Linked DNA regions of Homo sapiens: region 1 is linked to region 2. The links are contacts of gene promoters, found by promoter capture Hi-C in blood cells and fetal thymus (Javierre and others, 2016). All regions are on one chromosome and are shown on one strand. Each heading gives the region's core, a stretch centred on a gene start or on the middle of the fragment in contact. The rest is flanking DNA. Distances are from core to core; before and after follow the strand shown. Region 1 overlaps LOC105369777 (a long non-coding RNA gene). Region 2 holds the start of HOXC6 (homeobox C6).

Region 1 (3,197 bases), core at 435-2,934, 170 kb after region 2:
GGCCCAGGATCAGTTAATGTAGGTTTCCCAGAGCAGAATAGCCAGCAAGTAGGGAGGAGATGAAGGCCCAGGGCACACCTCTCCACACCCCCAGCTCCCACTGCCCCTTGTCATTCATTTAGCAGGGAGCAATGCCCTGTTCTGCACCACTCTCGCATGGCTAGTGAGCTGACCATTGGGCATCGTTGCTCCCCTTCTGGGTTGGGATTTCAGTCTCCCATGACTCCCTCGGCTTCAGCCATACAGAACTACTGCCGGTTCCCTAAATTCTCCTTGCCCTTTCTTAGCAACATGTCTTTGCCTGTGGTAATCCCTCTGACAGGACTGCCTTTTTCTCCACCCACTGCTGAACCTGGCAAACTCCAGCTCATCCCTTAAAACCCATCTCAACCATCACCTCCTCTGTGAAGCCTTTTCTGATGTTCTTCGTCAGATCCCAGCAACCTATTCAAACGTCTGAGGCAGCACTTGTCACACTGCTGCTGACACCGCAGCCTCCCTCCCTAGCCACAAGTCCTTCAAGGGCAAGGACCACCATGTGCTATTCAGCTGTCTCCCCAGGATACACACAAATACAGGCACACATTTAATTGAACCAGATTTTATTATCAACTTCCTTCCCATCCCAGGCCCACAGAACAGAAGCATCAGCCTAGTGGGGAGATCAGAAAGAAAGACTGAGAAGAAAACAACTCAGGAGATGATCGGGGGTACAGCACGTGCATTAGTGCTCTTGATCATCTCTTTCACCTAACTTAATGCTTAGTAAAAGAAGGAAGGGGCTGGGTGCGGTTGCTCACGCCTGTAATCCCAGCACTTTGGGAGGCCAAGGCGGGCGGATCACGAGGTCAGGAGATCGAGACCATCCTGGCTAACATGGTGGAACCCCGTCACTACTAAAAATACAAAAAATTAGCTGGGCGTGGTGGTGGGCGCCTGTAGTCCCAGCTACTCAGGAGGCTGAGGCAGGAGAATCGCTTGAACCCAGGAGGCAGAGGTTGCAGTGAGCTGAGATCATACCACTGCACTCCAGCCTGGGCAACAGAGCGAGACTCCGTCTCATAAAAAATAAAGAAGGAAGGAAGGGAGGAAGAGAGGAAAGTAAAGGAACAGAGGAAATAGGAAATAGAGCTGAAGGAGAAAGGGGAAGAAAGAAGGAAGGGAGAATAAAAAAAAAAAGTAAGAAAAGAGGTGGATGCAGGGTAGAAAGTAGAGCCAGAGAAGGGCCTTGTGGGAAGAGGGAGGGGAGGAAACAGGAGGAGCCAGGGGAGCGGGAGGCCAAACTTTTGACTCTGGAGCATGTCCAGCAGAGATCCTGGCCTTGAGCCTTAGTATCATTCCTGCCACCATGTTCCAATCTGGGAAATGGACACATCTCCCCTTCTCCAGGAACAAAGGAGTCTGGGCGGGAGCACCTGCTGTGCTGTGCTCCCCCCCCCCCAGAGGCCCTTTCACATCTGCCGTCTCCCAAAGCTCACCACAGCCCTGGGAAGTAGGATTTCTTATTCCACCCTTCCCTTCTGATGCGGGGATTGAGACAGAGCGGTCCGCCATGCGGCTCCAACAGGTAAGGTCTGACTCCAAAGGCCTGCTCTTCCCTTGACCCCAGGGTCCCCTCAGCATTGAAGACAGAAGAGGCAAATGACATTTCATGTCCCACTTGGAAAGTCAAGGTGCAGAAAACAGAGGGGACCAGACTCCTTCATATCCTGCGCAGCGTCATCTCCTGCCGCAAGAAGCACCCCACCTGCCGCAAGAAGCACTCCACCCGCATGACTCAGTCTTTGCCCAGTAGGTTGATGATAACCTAAGAAGCTGAAGACCTCACAGGGGCTCTGAAAGCCAACTGAAGTAGATGCAGCAAACTGTTCCATCATGTCATCCTTCCCTCTGCCTTGGGTCACCAGCCAAGGGAGGGAGTGGCTCAGGTGTTTTCCTTTCCACCCCTTTGTAAGCCCCCACGCAGATCTCCTCCCCATCCCAGAAGCCCAAGGAGCCAGCAATATCTGTGGTTCCCTGAGGTTCGGAGAGACACAGTAGCAAATAACTGTACCCAGGCCCCACTCCCCACTTCCAGGGATGTATAGCTTCGGGGTGTGGAGCACAGAGGACTTTTCCCAGAGCCTCACCCCAGATGAACAGCCAACTTCCCTTTGTTCAGCCTTCCTCAGATACTCAAACCCAGCAGCCCATGGCCTTCTCTGTCAGGAAGTCCTTCCTGATGTCTAACTTACATCTTTCCTGCTGCTGTCTATCCAGCCCTTAGCAGTGACAGGAGAGCAGTCTGAGCTCTAATGATCAGGGAATGGGGACAAGAACAAGTACTTCCCTTCAAGCCTTGGGTAGGGGAGTAGTAAGCAAAGAAAGAAGAGTGGCTCACTCAGCCTCATCTCTCCCGGCCTGTAGCAGTAGAAATGGAGGGTAGACAACTGGAAGGACTTCCTAGCCAAGCAAAGGGAGGTACTTCTGGAATAGGATTATAAAGTGCAAAGGCTGCGCCCTTTCTGATGGCCTCCCAGCCTGGCAGAGACCCTTCAGTGGCAGCTTCAGAAGGATAACCGGCACTTCCAGAAAAGCTCAGGGTGCTGGGATTACTGGGAACCCTTGCAGCTCCAGCAAAAAGAAAAACCTGGTCCTGGAGCCCCCTTGTGGCCGTGCAGAGGCAGGACAGGCAGTTCCACCTCCCACCACCACACCCGTGCTTAGAGCTGGGGCCCAGGGTTGCTGATGCAGAGGACAGGGAACCCAGGGCCCCACCTTCTGTGAGAGGCCAAATCGGCAGCCCCAGCCCCGAGGGCACCTGATCAGGAAGGAGTAGGGCCCAGAAGGAGCACTGGAAGAGGACACAGGCTAACCCCATTCTGTTCCTAATCTGCCGCTCTCCATCTGGTGACCCTGGGCACACCTCCCCACAGAGCCTCAGTGACCTCATTCATTAAAAGGAAGAAAAAGCCGGGCACGGTGGCTCACACCTGTAATCCCAGCACTTTGGGAGGCCGAGGCGGGCGGATCACGAGGTCAGGAGATCGAGACCATCATGGCTAACACGGTGAAATCCTGTCTCTACTAAAAATACAAAAATTAGCTGGACGTGGTGGCACATGCCTGTCCCAGCTACTCAGGAGGCTGAGGCAGGAGAATCGCTTGAACCAGGGAGGCGGAGGTTGCAGCGAGCCGAGATCATGCCACCGCACTCC
Region 2 (3,331 bases), core at 497-2,996:
TAACTAACATGTTGTCTCCACCAGCTCCTGCACACTGTCTGCTTTTGGGTTCGAAACTTTATTTTTCCCCCCTAGCGACACTCCAGGGAAACCTTAACGTTACAGAAGATGAATAAACGAGTTTTTTCTCAGCATAGTCCCGTTTATGGCTTTATTGCTACCCATTGATTACTCCGCTTTGTTACACAGAAGGAAAAGATCATAAAATCCGGCGACATCCGGGTTCTTGTTATAGCCAGCTTTCCCCCCCCCCAACCCACCCAAAAATGGTGGGGGGGGGGGGATATGAGCTTTCTCTGCTCCCCGCACACTCCCCACCACCCTTCTTTGTCAACTCAAGGCATTTTCAGCCTATATCACGATATCAAATTAAGTTTGGACTAATCAGGAGAAAACCCCCATCTGCACACTTTCCGCTGTTTCAGTTCGCCTACTGCGGCTCCCTCACAAGCCTCGGATTCAGCTGCCTTTTCGTAACCGTCTCTTCCCTTTTTTTAGCCCCAAGATGGGGGAATAAAATGGGCGTTGAGGTTGCTGAGAGGCCCATCCCCACCACGGGTGACTGGCACTTGGGTGAGAGCTCCTTAGAACCCCTTTCTGAAGTCTCCAAGCCTCATAGCTCAGGTCCAGGGGCGCCTCCACTGGCGGTGCCCTGAGTCTGGAGGGGGCAGGGGGGCTTCTGACCAAGGCAGGGGCTTGAGCCTGCAGGAAGCTAACTGTCCATCAGAGCCCCACCAGCCTTCTCTTTCTGGCTGGATCCTATGTGAATTACCCCACAGGCCCTCACTGGCTCCAAATAATAAATTCTCACCAACATAAACAGGAGTTGATGTCTCTAGAAAGATTCTCAGAGTTTTCGTTCTTCCTCTCTCTCTCTTTCTCTCTGTCTTTCCCCCTCCGGTGCCACCTCCCTACATTTTACTTCTTTTTCTCCTTTTTCTATTGCATTTTTTATACATTTTCCCTTTTAGGCAAAAATGCTGGAAGAGTTTTCCCAACAGAGGGGTCCTGAGAAGGAGGCAGAAGGGAGCCAGGAGGCAAAGGAGAGCAGATGCGTGGCCCATTTGCCCACTCCAGCTCTGCCACTGTACCCTGAAGTCTTGCCCCTTTAGACCTAGTTGTTCCCCACATCCCTACTACATTCAAGACTCTCAGCCACACTCTACTTACTCAGGGGAACAGGTTTTATGAAATTTCTTTCTACTTTTGATTTTTTTTTAATTATTGGTGAAAAAAATACTAGTTTAGTGATGGGACTCACTCCATGGAGTGTCAAAACAGGATTTCCTGCAGGATTTCTAGGGACCCCCCTCCTGTGCTGGGAGGGAGTTCTTCCCTTGGAGAAATCAGGATGTAATTTTAGAAGGGGGCAGATATAAAACATGAAACCAGATTGAAAATACAGGGGTTTCTCTAGCCCTGGCTCTGGCCACAGCACAGCAAAGTTAGCTGGGGCTGAGAGATTTCCTGGTAGTACAGCTCTCCTTCCCTGAGTCCCAAGGCCCTGCTCAGGGACATGCACCCCTCCTTCACCACCAAACCAGTTCCCTTACATATATATATATATATATATATTTTTTAAAAGAAATCCAAGTCTTACTTTCAAAGCACACACTTAGTCTCAACTAGGGAATCAACAGAAGCAGAAGCGATTTTTTTCCCCCTTCCTGACATCTGGCTTGCGATTGGCTGGGAGGGGGTCAGCTGACTTTGTCATTTTGTCTGTCCTGGATTGGAGCCGTCCCTATAACCATCTAGTTCCGAGTACAAACTGGAGACAGAAATAAATATTAAAGAAATCATAGACCGACCAGGTAAAGGCAAAGGGATGAATTCCTACTTCACTAACCCTTCCTTATCCTGCCACCTCGCCGGGGGCCAGGACGTCCTCCCCAACGTCGCCCTCAATTCCACCGCCTATGATCCAGTGAGGCATTTCTCGACCTATGGAGCGGCCGTTGCCCAGAACCGGATCTACTCGACTCCCTTTTATTCGCCACAGGAGAATGTCGTGTTCAGTTCCAGCCGGGGGCCGTATGACTATGGATCTAATTCCTTTTACCAGGAGAAAGACATGCTCTCAAACTGCAGACAAAACACCTTAGGACATAACACACAGACCTCAATCGCTCAGGATTTTAGTTCTGAGCAGGGCAGGACTGCGCCCCAGGACCAGAAAGCCAGTATCCAGATTTACCCCTGGATGCAGCGAATGAATTCGCACAGTGGTGAGTTTTACAGCTCCGAGATATAAATTAAATAAACTGAACTGGCTTTATGACCGGCTTCCCTAGAAGAACGGGCGGAGAGAGTTTTTTATGGCCCCATAAAAACAATCACGCTCGTCTCCTCACCGAGACAGGGCCCCCTCTTCTGCCCCCTCAGCTCGCCTCTCGCTCGCTTGCAGGGGCCTGGCCCCCTTGGCCCCTGACGGATTGGAGGGCCCCAAGGCGGGCTGAGGGGGCAGGAACAGGGCAGGGGATGAGGGGAGGGAGCAGAAGATAGGGGAGCCCCCCAAAGTGGAGTCAGTCTGAGGAGAAGGGAGGGGGAGAGGAGAGGCAGATAAGTGGGGAGAAGTTTCCAAGGAACTAGGATGCTTGGGGAGATGGGGGAGCCCAGTCCTTGAGAAAGGGGGCCCTCATCCCCATTATCTGGGATTTTTCAAAAATCTGCTTTTAGACTTGCAGCTTTCTGTTTGCCTTTTGCCCCGCCCCCCCGCCCCCCCCCCCACCACACACCTTTCTTTGGGACACACAGGTCCCACCTTATAGGAGGTCTGAAGTTGGGGTCCTCGCTGTACCCCCAGTGGGGGTGGGGCAAGGCAAAAGGGAGAAGGCTAGAGCCCTAAGGAGGCTGTGAGCTGCTGGCCAGGTTGGGAGGGTCAGGACTTTGCTAGGCGAAACAGTCTGCAGAGGACGCTTTGCTGATTGCTTTTAGTGTGTTTTGTGCCCGGATCTTTAGGGGTCGGCTACGGAGCGGACCGGAGGCGCGGCCGCCAGATCTACTCGCGGTACCAGACCCTGGAACTGGAGAAGGAATTTCACTTCAATCGCTACCTAACGCGGCGCCGGCGCATCGAGATCGCCAACGCGCTTTGCCTGACCGAGCGACAGATCAAAATCTGGTTCCAGAACCGCCGGATGAAGTGGAAAAAAGAATCTAATCTCACATCCACTCTCTCGGGGGGCGGCGGAGGGGCCACCGCCGACAGCCTGGGCGGAAAAGAGGAAAAGCGGGAAGAGACAGAAGAGGAGAAGCAGAAAGAGTGACCAGGACTGTCCCTGCCACCCCTCTCTCCCTTTCTCCCTCGCTCCCCACCAACTCTCCCCTA

What was found. Contacts are between HindIII fragments. The CHiCAGO score rates a contact against its expected background, and 5 or more counts as called.
Region 1: a contact is called between a fragment that was not itself captured here and the fragment with the promoter of HOXC6 in region 2, in 16 of 17 cell types (naive B cells, naive CD8 T cells, total CD8 T cells and 13 more). The highest score is 20.7, in naive B cells.

The regions. Positions count from the first base shown.
Region 1 is chr12:54,198,851-54,202,047 of GRCh38, forward strand. LOC105369777 (a long non-coding RNA gene) reads left to right here. Exons shown (of 3, transcript XR_944984.2): 3 at 1,610-3,197. Among named protein-coding and RNA genes, the nearest start is that of SMUG1, 11 kb to the left of the region's middle. The HindIII fragment of the contact is 6,102 bases long and covers 1-3,197 here.
Region 2 is chr12:54,026,694-54,030,024 of GRCh38, forward strand. It overlaps HOXC6 (homeobox C6), which reads left to right and starts at 1,747. Exons shown (of 2, transcript NM_004503.4): 1 at 1,747-2,228; 2 at 2,962-3,331. The coding sequence starts at 1,829. The coding sequence ends at 3,269. It also overlaps a transcript of HOXC4 not described here and a transcript of HOXC5 not described here. The HindIII fragment of the contact is 15,214 bases long and covers 1-3,331 here.